3 separate regions of the Homo sapiens genome follow, and all the other regions are linked to region 3. Evidence: promoter capture Hi-C in 16 types of primary human blood cells and fetal thymus (Javierre and others, 2016). All regions are on one chromosome and are shown on one strand. Each heading gives the region's core, a stretch centred on a gene start or on the middle of the fragment in contact. The rest is flanking DNA. Distances are from core to core; before and after follow the strand shown.

The links. The method cuts DNA at HindIII sites, captures the fragments that hold promoters and counts their contacts. A CHiCAGO score of 5 or more calls a contact.
Region 1: a fragment that was not itself captured here is called in contact with the fragment with the promoter of WIPI2 in region 3 in 1 of 17 cell types (M2 macrophages); the score reaches 5.7 in M2 macrophages.
Region 2: a contact is called between a fragment that was not itself captured here and the fragment with the promoter of WIPI2 in region 3, in 1 of 17 cell types (erythroblasts). The highest score is 5.3, in erythroblasts.

Annotation. Positions count from the first base shown.
Region 1 is chr7:4,861,322-4,865,016 of GRCh38, forward strand. The region is part of intron 2 of RADIL (Rap associating with DIL domain); the gene reads right to left. It overlaps PAPOLB (poly(A) polymerase beta), which reads right to left and starts at 709. Exons shown (of 1, transcript NM_020144.5): 1 at 1-709. The coding sequence starts at 489. RefSeq lists an enhancer at 1-564. The HindIII fragment of the contact is 232 bases long and covers 1,685-1,916 here.
Region 2 is chr7:5,678,523-5,682,156 of GRCh38, forward strand. All of the region lies in intron 13 of RNF216 (ring finger protein 216), which reads right to left. It overlaps RNF216-IT1 (RNF216 intronic transcript 1), which reads right to left and starts at 1,939. Exons shown (of 3, transcript NR_046834.1): 1 at 1,832-1,939. RefSeq lists enhancers at 1,741-1,840, 1,941-2,000. The HindIII fragment of the contact is 1,294 bases long and covers 1,628-2,921 here.
Region 3 is chr7:5,188,210-5,191,692 of GRCh38, forward strand. WIPI2 (WD repeat domain, phosphoinositide interacting 2) reads left to right here and starts at 2,024. Exons shown (of 13, transcript NM_015610.4): 1 at 2,024-2,284. The coding sequence starts at 2,211. RefSeq lists silencers at 1,809-2,458, 2,469-2,518. The HindIII fragment of the contact is 15,802 bases long and covers 1-3,483 here.

The DNA of each region.
Region 1 (3,695 bases), core at 551-3,050, 330 kb before region 3:
ATCAAAACACAGTTTGATAACTGGCACAAATGCCTCCTCGACAGCCCTTAAATCTTTCACTTCCTCCTGTAGTTTCAGTTTAGCATAGAATGAGGTGAAAAAGTCGCTTCGATCCACATGACTTGGTGCAACGCACAAGGCGTCAATATCTGCGCCTTTCGTATGTACTCCTAATCTGTAAGAGCCAAACGTAAAAATCTTTCCTCCAACGTTTTCAATTACAGACTGGGGAAGACTCTTGCTTTCACTGATTTCGCGTATCCATTCCTTTACCAGATTATTTAATTTTTCCAAAACTAAAATCCTGCGCTGCAGTTCCTCTTCCTCTTCGAAGACCCCGAAGGGCCTGAGGGTTTCTATTAGCCTCTGGGTGAGGAGGCAGTCCGTCTCCTTGGGGACCGCTAGACTGATAGGCGAGGAGACGCCGTAGCGATTCGGCGGCGGCGCCGGCTGCGGTGGTCCCTGGGTTGTCACCGGAAACGGCATCATCTTTCAGCGCCCGCCCCGCCAGGGCACGTCCCCCACCACCGCGACCTTCGCGGCCGCCGCCCGGGTCATGATCCGCTGAGGCGGAAGGGCAGGGCTTCTAGCTGCCCTGGTCCGACCCCACTCCCACTCCCGCTGCGCGCCCGCCGCTTCAGGAGCTTCTCCTCCTTCCCCTCAGCCCCAACATGGCGCCAGACCCCTCAGCGGCTGCGTTCCAGAACCTACCGTACACGCGCGGGCGCCTGCGCACCCGCCGCCAGCGCGAGGGCTCACGGGAGCCACAGCGTTCTGGGCTGGGGCTCCTACCGCTGCGCGGGGGGCTATACATGGGGGTGGGCAGGATTCACGTTGTTGATGACCGGCCAAACTCAACCCTTTATTGCCACTATTTTACATATTTGCCCAACTTTACCCATCTAATTCTTTGCTCTCCAAGTCCCTTGACATCGCAGATGTGCATCCTTTTTGGGGGCACCCTCAGCACTCTTCACCCTAGCGTGCACCCTTTGGAAGTCCAAAGACCCCTTCGTGGTGGGAACCCGCGGTGGAAAGCAGCTTCTGTCTTGTTTCTTGGGCCGTTGCTGGACATTGGTTTAGCTGGGGCAGCATTTCGAGGTCGACATTTGTGTTCTGGCCATGCTTTAAGGGCGCGATACTGCTGTCCTCTGGTTCCCGTTGAGAATTCCGCAGCTAGGTGAACTACTGCTCGTCTGTCTTTTCTTATGGCAGCTATAAAAGTGTCTGTCCCTAGTGCCCTGTGATCCCACCACTGTGTGTCCAGGCATAGATTTCTCTTTAATAATCTTACCCAGGCTGGGCGCAGTGGCTCACGCCTGTAATCCCAGCACTATGGGAGGCCGAGGCGGGCAGATCACCTGAGGTCAGGAGTTGGAGACCAGCCTCAACATGGAGAAACCCCGTCACTACTAAAAATACAAAATTAGCCGGGCGTGGTGGTGCATGCCTGTAATCCCAGCTACTCGGGAGGCTGAGGCAGGAGAATTGCTTGAACCTGAGAGGCAGAGGTTGCGGTGAGCCAAGATCACACCATTGCACTCCAGCCTGGGCAACAAGAGTGAAACTCTGTCTCAAAAAAAAAAATAAAATTAAAAATAAAAATAAAAAATAAAAAATATAATCTTACCCAGGATACACTATGATTCCCGAATCAGAAGTCATGCTTTTTATGATCTCCAGAAGCTTCTTGGGCACTTCCTGGGAATATGTTCTCCCACTTGTCTCCTGATTCTCTTCATCTAGACACGTTGTCAACCTTCTCACTCTGTCCTCCATGTCTCTTAAGCCGTGTGTCTTTCTGGGTGATGCCAGATTACCTCCAAGTCCTCTCTTCAGTTGTATTTAGTCTGCTGTTTAAGCATCATTGAAATATCCACTTAAATACTTATATTTCACTATTTTGTTCTTTTCCAAGCTTCTCTGCCTTTTAGATGGCATTCTGTTCTTTCATGTTTTTCCCCCTACCTTTTATTTCTTTAAACGTGTTAAACATACTTATTTAGTACTCTATAACTAATTATTCTAATTCCGAATGCTCTTGAGAAACTGTATAGTTTGTTGTTATCCAAGAACTCAGAGTGGTATTACCTCTTGGGTCTTGTAATTTTGGATTGTGAGCTCATTTCTGGTGAAGCTTGGAATGCCTGTGTAGACGCTGTGTCCTTCCAAAGAGGATTTGCTTTGTTTCCAGTAGATGTTCTTGTACACTATAGAATTGCAGTCAGTGTAATTTCTTATCCAGGGATTATCCACAACATCTAGATGGTGCAACTTTGAACCCCAAATACATGTAAGAGGACATGTGGTTTTCATTTTTAAGGAACAGTCTTTAGTTTTTCCCACCCAAGTCAAGAGAGAGAACTTCCTTTGCCATCTCCTTTCACCAGGTAGCAGATTCTTCTTACTCCATTTTTTCACTCAATGTGTCACCCTTTGAGGATTCCAATTGTATTTGGAGGGGTCTCAATTCTAACTCCCTACCTTTTAAGGTCCCAAGAGCTTTCTGTCTCTTCTTGGACAGCTGCTAAACTTAAGTTTCTCAGTTTCCAAGACTGGCCAATGCCTCTAGGGCGGTTCTAGTTTCAGAATCAGCTACAATCCTGAGGTTTCAAGGTATCCCTTTTTCTTCCAGCCCTAGAGACTTCCTTTATTTTCCTGGGTACTCAGCTATGCATTCAAAAAAATGATTTCTTATATTTATCCAACATTTCCAGGCACTTTACATAGAAAGATTTTCTGGGATAATTAATCCCATATATTGCCAGAAATATAAATACCTTCTTTTTAATCCATTTCAACATTGGCTTACATGCTCAAAAACAGCTATCAGCAAGGTCTTTGGTGACCTCCATGTTGCCCAACCCATGACCCCAATGATTTCCATCTTCTTTGACCTATGGTAGCTTCATCTTGGCCTCTGCGACACCATACTCTTTGTCTTCCACATGTCTGGCCAGTCCTCAGTCAAATTTGCTGATTCCTCCTCCTTTACTTGACCTCTAAATGTTGGGAGTTCCTCCAGTTTCCATTCTAAGCCCTCATTTCTCCTCACTGCATGTACATTCACTGCCTGGTTAATCTGCTGATTTCCACAGCTTTAAATACCACTTACTTACAGATTAATTCATATTTTAATCAGACTCTCTTCTGAACTCCAGATCCATATTATCTGACTGCCTGTGGTTGCCACCTATATTTGGATGCCTTTAACTTAACATAGTTTAAAGAGAACTCTAACTCATCCTCCCACAGTTTGCTTCTCTCTCAGTAGTCTCCATTTTAGGAAATGACATCTCTTTCTACCCAACTCTTGATACAAGAAACCTGGGAGTCATTCTGGACACCTCCCTGTTTTGCATCCTCAACATCCAATTCATTTACAAGTTCTGTTGATTTCACCTCCAGAATATACTTAAAATCCCTCTACTGCTTTCTACCTGTTCCCTTATAACTCTAGTCCAAGCCACCATCAACTCTCATTTCAACTTCTACAACAACTAAATTAATCTCCTATTACTGACCTTTTCAAAGTATTCTCTACCTAGGAGCCAGAGTCATCTTTTAATCCCTCCAATGACCTCCCATTATACACAGTGTAAAATCCAAAATACATAACAAGCCAGGTAGATCTTTTCCCCAACTATCTGTCTAGCCGCACCTTCTGCAACTTTCCCCTCTGCACCAGCTGCAAT
Region 2 (3,634 bases), core at 1,025-3,524, 490 kb after region 3:
GTAGTCCACCATGGCTACTTACTAAAGTGACCTCAGGTGAGTGACCTCACCTCTCCCAGCTTCAGCTTCCCTATCTATAAAAGGAGTGCTTATAAGGAGGCCGGCACTCGTAGTGACAAATATCAACTGCTGCTCTGCCATGGCTCCAGTCACAACTGTGCCTCCTGGGCCTGCTACCCTCCAAGCACGCTTCCAGGAAACCCTGCACTGTGAGAGCTACAGCAGTGGGACAAGCTGCAGAGGCTGCTCCTCACACAGAAGGTGACGGAGCAGATTTCTCGACTCCACTTCATCAGGGAAGACATGAGAGCTGGACTGGATAAATTAAGAGGCAAAGGTCTGCAGACAAGCTGAGGAGGCCGAGCTCCTAGAGAGGAAGTGGGGAGCATGGCTGGTTTATCAGTTGCTCTCCAATAACCCTGATCACACAGGGACTAGAAATGGCCTCAATAGAGCAAAGAGGAAATTTATGGGAGCCACAAGTGTAGAATATTTTAAAAGTTATTGAGTAAAGTTGTAAAATTTAAGAGTACAGAGATTAGATACAGTGGAATGAATAACAGCAGCAGCTACCATTTATTGAGTGCTTATGGATGAAACATCTTAGTTATCAAGTCATTTAATCCTCCTAACAGACTTTTCAGGAGGATCCTGTCACCCTCGGGTAGGGGTGGTGGTGGTGCGGTGGCGGGGGGGCGGTGCACACAGCTAACAAGTGGTGGGACAGGCATCTGAACATGGCCATGCTGCTCCAGCCAGCCCCTGCTAAAGGCACTGGACTAAGGGCCTGTTTGTCACCATCTAGTGACATATTTTGGGCAAATCCTTCAGCCCTAGAATGGTGCAGAACAGGGCAAGCTGTGGTCCGGCCAGCCTCACAAGGGGCTGGGTTGTGAGGATGCAGGCGCTGAGCGCACTGGTGCACACACACCGTAACAAGTGTAACGAGGCTGTTGGTGAGTCTGGGGGAATGCGGTGAAGCCTCTCAGCAGTAGGAGTGCTGACCAGAGTCCCTTGAGGGTCCTCCCTGCCTCACATTTCTGGAAGCCTAAGTGATCACCAGATGTGCAATTATTTGATAAGGCTTAGCTCCAGGCGCTATGACAACAGACACAAAATCAAAACCACTGAAATCGAGAGAATAGCCCTGTCATGGAATCTCCCATGGAATGTGCTACTGCAAGGAACAATTAAACAAAAAAAGAAAGGCAGGCACCACTGAGAGAAGAGCGTATCTGTGTGAGTGCCTGCATTTCTAACAACTGGCCCTGTGGGAATGAGCATCTTTAGACCCTCAGCAGGAGAGACTATCATGCTCCTCCAGGTCCCTCACCCGCCTTTCTGCTAAGCGGCCAGAGTCCCTGGGCAGGTGAGCCAGGCGGCTCCACAGTCGGCTTTAAGAAACACAATAGGGACCCTGTATGCACAGCGAGTCCCTTAGGGTCCTGGGAGTCTCTTGCTGGGATCATTACATCCTCAGTCCTCTGCTACCAGAATAATCATGTGACAAGCTAAATCTGATCATTTCACTACCCTGTTTAATGACCATGGATAGACTTCCTGCTGCAATCAGGAAGAAGTCCACGTTCTTCACACAAGGGACATCTCCCCCACGAGCTGGCCCTGAAGCTTCCAGCCTCCTCAGAGCTCGCCCTGGAAACACACGCTCCCCTCTACTTTAACACTCTGTGTCCTCTTCCGGAAGTCTCTTCATGCTCTAATGCAGCCTTCAAGGTCCAACAGGGAAGTGGTTCCTTTGTCCCCCGCCCTGCCCCCAGCTAGCTCTGTCATCATAGAATGCGATCCACTCCCCCAAGCCCAAGTCTCCTACCCGAGTCCTCCACGTGGTGGGCTTGTCAGCTCACTGGTTACTCAACACTTCTTTTTTTGTTGTTGTTGAGACGGAGTCTTGCCCTGTCGCCAGCCTGGAGAGCAGTGGTGCGATCTCGGCTCACTGCAATCTCTACCTCCCGGGTTCAAGCGATTCCCCTGCTTCAGCCTCCTGAGTAGCTGGGACTACAGGCGCGCACCACCATGCTCAGCTAATTTTTTTTGTATTTTACTAGAGACGGGGTTTCACCATGTTGGCCAGGATGGTCTCGATCTCCTGACCTTGTGATCTGCCCGACTCGGCCTCCCAAAGTGCTGGGATTACAGGTGTGAGCCACCGCGCCCAGCACTCAACACTTCTACTTGGATATCTAAAAGGCACCCCAGACAAAAGATGTCTGAAGCACCACTTCTGGCCCCTGGGCTCCCCTGTATCCCTGAAGGACACAGCCACCCACTGGCTGCTCATGCAACAAAACCCAATTCCTCCTTTCTCTTTACCCCCACTCATTCCAGCTTGTCCTTTCTGTTCCGCCTCCAAAATGCACCTCACATCTAACCCACTCCTATCTGGGTCCAAAACCCAGCCTAGATCCCCTCTGGCTGGGCCATGGCGGAGAGCCTGGACTTCAGGCCATCCCACCCCTCACTCCCTCTCATGCTGCTGCCTCCAGCCATACCCCGCAGATACCCCAGACCCTTCCCACACTGGGGTCTCAGCTCCTGTGTTCTTACCTCAACAGCTTGTCCCTGGCTCTTTGAACGCCTAGCCTCTTGCTTATAATTTGGACAAGTCCTGAATCGTTTGTGGTTCTTCAGAGACACTGAAGAGCCACCTGGGCCTTTAGCAGCACCCTAAATGTTTCTCATACTATGCCTAATGTAGGAACCTCCCTACCTCAGGAAATCCAAGCAATTACCTAGGGCCAGAATCTGAATTATCATCTGGTTTCATCTCCCATCATTTACCTGTTTTAGGAAAAAATACAAACTTTATTCTGAAAGAGAAAAGTCATCCTTGGCCCCAAACACGTCACATTTTATAGCTACACAGAAACAACTGTGGATTACCAAGTCCCCAGCAGCTTCTAAGCTTCTGGGAGGAAATCTGTAGCCCTGACCCAGTGTGCCTCCCTCTCTAGTTTATTCCAAGGGGTGTTCTCAAGCCTCTAGGGCTAGGCAGGACCTGTAGCACCAAGGACAGTGTCTTCCTCCTCCTTGATTAACCCTACCCACTGACCACACTGACAACCTTTCAATGTTGTTCTTGCTTAGGAAGTGTCAAGGACGAGTCCCATTCCTCAACTGGGGATAGTTTTCTGTCTGGTATGTTGGCCCAAGCCTCACTGGTTGCAACTTACCAGACCACACTGCGAAACCACACTGCTCAGCTTCAACACTCCGGCTTACTGACTGGCCATGGCATCTCATCAACAGCCATCCCTCAATCCTGACTACATAAACGGGAAACACCCAGAAAAGGAGGATAGGAGGTGAAAAGGCCAAATTCAAAAGCAAGTTCAACATGAAGACGGGATCTGTGTAGCCCCTAAGGGTGGTAACCCCCAGTGGTTTTCTAAAGAATGCTACAAAGATGACCATCTCCCTGTGCCACAGCAACCTTAGACAATGGGTCACAGCCCACTGGCACTCTGGCTCTGTGTGTGCCACTTCTGTGGCCGGCTGCTGCCTCTTCTCAGGGTGGGGATGATGGAGAAATGCTTGCAGACCTGTCCACTCAGCAGACACAGGCACCTGAGGCCATGCGGGCCCACGCTGCTAGGAAAAACCGTTGGCTTTCTTT
Region 3 (3,483 bases), core at 774-3,273:
CCTGTAATCCCAGCTACTCGGGAGGCTGAGGCAGGAGAATCACTTGAACCCGGAAGGTGGACGTTGCAGTGAGCCGAGATTGCGCCATCGCACTCCAGCCTGGTCAAGAAGGTGAAATTCCGTCTCAAAAAAAAAAAAAAAAAAAAAAAAAATATATATATATATATATATATATATATATTCGCTCATTGTACCCCCGAGTTTCTAATTATATTTATTTATTTTATTTTTTGAGATGGAGTCTCACTGTGTCGCCCAGGCTGGAGTGCAGTGGCATGATCTCGGCTCACTGCAGCCTTCACCTCCTGGGTTCAAGCAATTCTCCCATCTCAGTCTCCTGAGTAGCTGGGATTACAGGGCCGTGCCACCACAACTGGCTAATATTTTACATTTTTCCTAGAGACAGGGTTTCACCATGTTGGGCAGGCTAGTCTCAAACTCATGACCTCAGGTGATCCACCTGCCTCAGCCTCCCAAAGTGCTGGGGTTACAGGCGTGAGTCACCATGCCCAGCCTATTTTATTTTACTTTTTAGATGGAGTCTCACTCTGTCGTCCGTCCAGGCTGGAGTGCAGAGGTGCAATCTCGGCTCACTGCAACCTCCACCTGTGGGGCTCAAGCAATTCTCCCACCTCAGCCTCCCTAGTAGCTGAGATTACAGGTGCCCACCACCATACCCAGCTAACTTTTGTACTTTTAGTAGAGACGGGGTTTCACCATGTTAGCCAGGCTGGTCTGGAACTCCCGACCTCAGGTGATCCACCCGCCTCAGCCTCCCAAAGTGCTGGGATTACAGGTAAGAGCCACCACACCTGGCCTTCTATTTATATTTAAATATCTCCCCATTATAACTTCTCTGAGGGAAAGGAGGAGGCCTATTTAGTTCACATGAGAGGTGCGTCCTAAATACTGTTGAATGAATGAATAAATTTAAGGGACGATTCTGTCCCAGGAACCCAGACAGTATGGACCTTGGAGAAACAGGACGTTTCCAGTCTCAGATCTAGCACTTGGCTAATAATTATTTCTGAGCCTCGATTTTCAAATCTGTAAAATTAAGATATACTATTCTCTACTTAGGATTGTAATGGGCATCAAATAAGATAATGTGGCTGGGCACAGTGGCTCACATCTGTAATCCCAGTACTTTGGGAGGCCGAGGTGGGAGCATCACTTGAGGCCAGGAGTGCGAGACCAGCCTAGGCAACAGAGTAAGACCCCCCCCGCCCCCACCCCATCTCTACAAAAAACTTAAAAGTTAGCAGGGTGTGGTGGCATGCATTTGTGGTCCCAGCTACTTGGGAGGCTAAGGTGGGAGGATCGCTTGAGCCTGAGTTTGAGGCTGCAGTGAGCTGTGATTGAGCCTCTGCACTCCAGCCTAGGCAACAGAGCGAGACCTTGTCTTTCAAAATAATAAAATGATAAGGTAATGCGCAGAAGCATTCAGCACAGTGATTGGCACATGGAGGGCCCATTGGGGTGTTTTTGTTTTTGTTTTTGTTGTTGTTTGAGACAGAGTCTCGCTCTATGGCCCAGGCTGGATGGATTGCAGTGGCATGATCTCGGCTCACTGCAATCTCCGCCTCCTGGGTTCAAGCGATTATCTTGCCTCAGCCTCCCGAGTAGCTGGGATTACAGGCGTACACCACCAAGCCCGGCTAATTTTTCTTGTATTTTTAGTAGAGACGGGGTTTCACCATGTTGGCCAGGCTGGTCTCGAACTTCTGATCTTAGGTGATCCGCCCGCCTTGGCCTCCCAAAATGCTGGGATTACAGGCCACCGTGCCTGGCCATTGAGTGTTATTAAGAGGAGGGTACGCAGAAAACAGACTCCCGCCAGCTCTGCCCCATGCGCATGAGCGGCCGCCGCTCGCCCTCAGCCAGGCCCAGCGCGCCCCGACGCGTCCCCACGCCTGCGTGATCCACCGGAACCCAAGCCCAGGCAGGCGGTGAGAGGGCGGGGCCTCCGCAGTGCGACTGCGCCGCTCGAGGCCGTGCGTCGCGGGGGCGGGGCCGCGCAGGCGTACCGGGTGCCCCGGCTCTGGAGCATAAACAAGAGCGGGGACGGGATGAGGCGGCGGTTGATCCCAGGGTGGCGAGTGGCGGCGACCGAGGCGGCGAGCGGGGCCCGGCGCCGACCCTGAGTGCAGCCTGACCCGCCCTCGCGCGCGCGCCCTCCCCGGCCGGGCCCACTCGCCGCGCGCCCAGCCATGAACCTGGCGAGCCAGAGCGGGGAGGCCGGCGCCGGCCAGCTGCTCTTCGCCAACTTCAACCAGGACAACACGTAAGGCCGGGGTCGGGGGTCGGAGTCGGGGTGAGGCCAGGGTCGGACCCGGGCTAGGGGGAGGGCCTCGCTGCCAAGCTCGGCGGCGTCGCAGGCTCGGCCTCCCCGCGGGCCAAGGCGCGCAGAGGCGTCCCCAGGGGCGGGCCCGGGGCGTGCAGGGAGGGGCGCCCTCCAGGGAGACCCTCGGGTGCTGGCCTGGAGCTGCGGTCCCGGAGCGGGAGAGGTGGTGGAGAGGGGGCTGCTTTCACCCTCTTGCGGGGAGGCCCCCTGGCTTCAGACTTAACTACTTCTCGCAAAGTTGGGGCCGAACTTTGGGGCTTGACTTGTCTTGGCCGCCTGTGGAGCGCTGGGTGTGGGTCGCTTCCTCTCCTCTCGTCTCCTCTTCCCGCTGCTTGCTCAGCGTCTCCCACTCACTCTCCTTTGAATCAGGCCCTTCTCCTTGTCTTTTCATCGTCTTAAGACCCTTCTCTCTCTCTTGATTTTCTTTTCTTCGTTTCTCACTGTTTTTTTGTTTGTTTTTGTTTTTTGGGGTTTGTTTTGTTTTGAGACAGAGTCTTGCTCTGTTGCCCAGGCTGGAGTGCAGTGGTGCCATCTCAGCTCACTGCAACCTCCGCCTCCTGGGTTCAAGCGATTCTCCTGCCTCAGCCTCCCGAGTAGCTGAGACTACAGGCACGCGCCACTGTGCCCAGCTAACTTTTTTGTATTTGTAGTAGAGACAGGGTTTCACCATGTTGGTCAGGCTGGTCTCAAATTCCTGACCTCAAGTGATCCGCCCACCTCAGCCTCCCAAAGTGCTGGGATTACAGGTGTGAGCCACCGTGCGCGGCCCTCCCTGTTCTTTTTGGGACATCAACTTTGATGTCTTCTCCAGCAAGTAACAAACTTAGCAATAACCTTGGCATCTGACCTAGCTAGGGAGAAACTGAGCCAAGAGAGGCGTTACGGACCAGTGCCCCAGGAGTCTCAGAGCTCCAGCGGGTGGGTCATCCTCAGGGCAAGAGAAGGCCTTAATGCCAGCCCGTGCATTCGGAACGCTGTTTGTCCCCACTGATACGGGTTGGATGCTGCCTGGGAGGAGGACTTGTGGGGATGGTTAATAGATGAGCGAGCTTTCTGGAGAGAGAAGGGTGAGTTATGGGGTTGGCAGGGAGGAGAGCCATCTTGGAAGTGAGTAAGAGGAAGTGAGGAAAGAGAAGGAG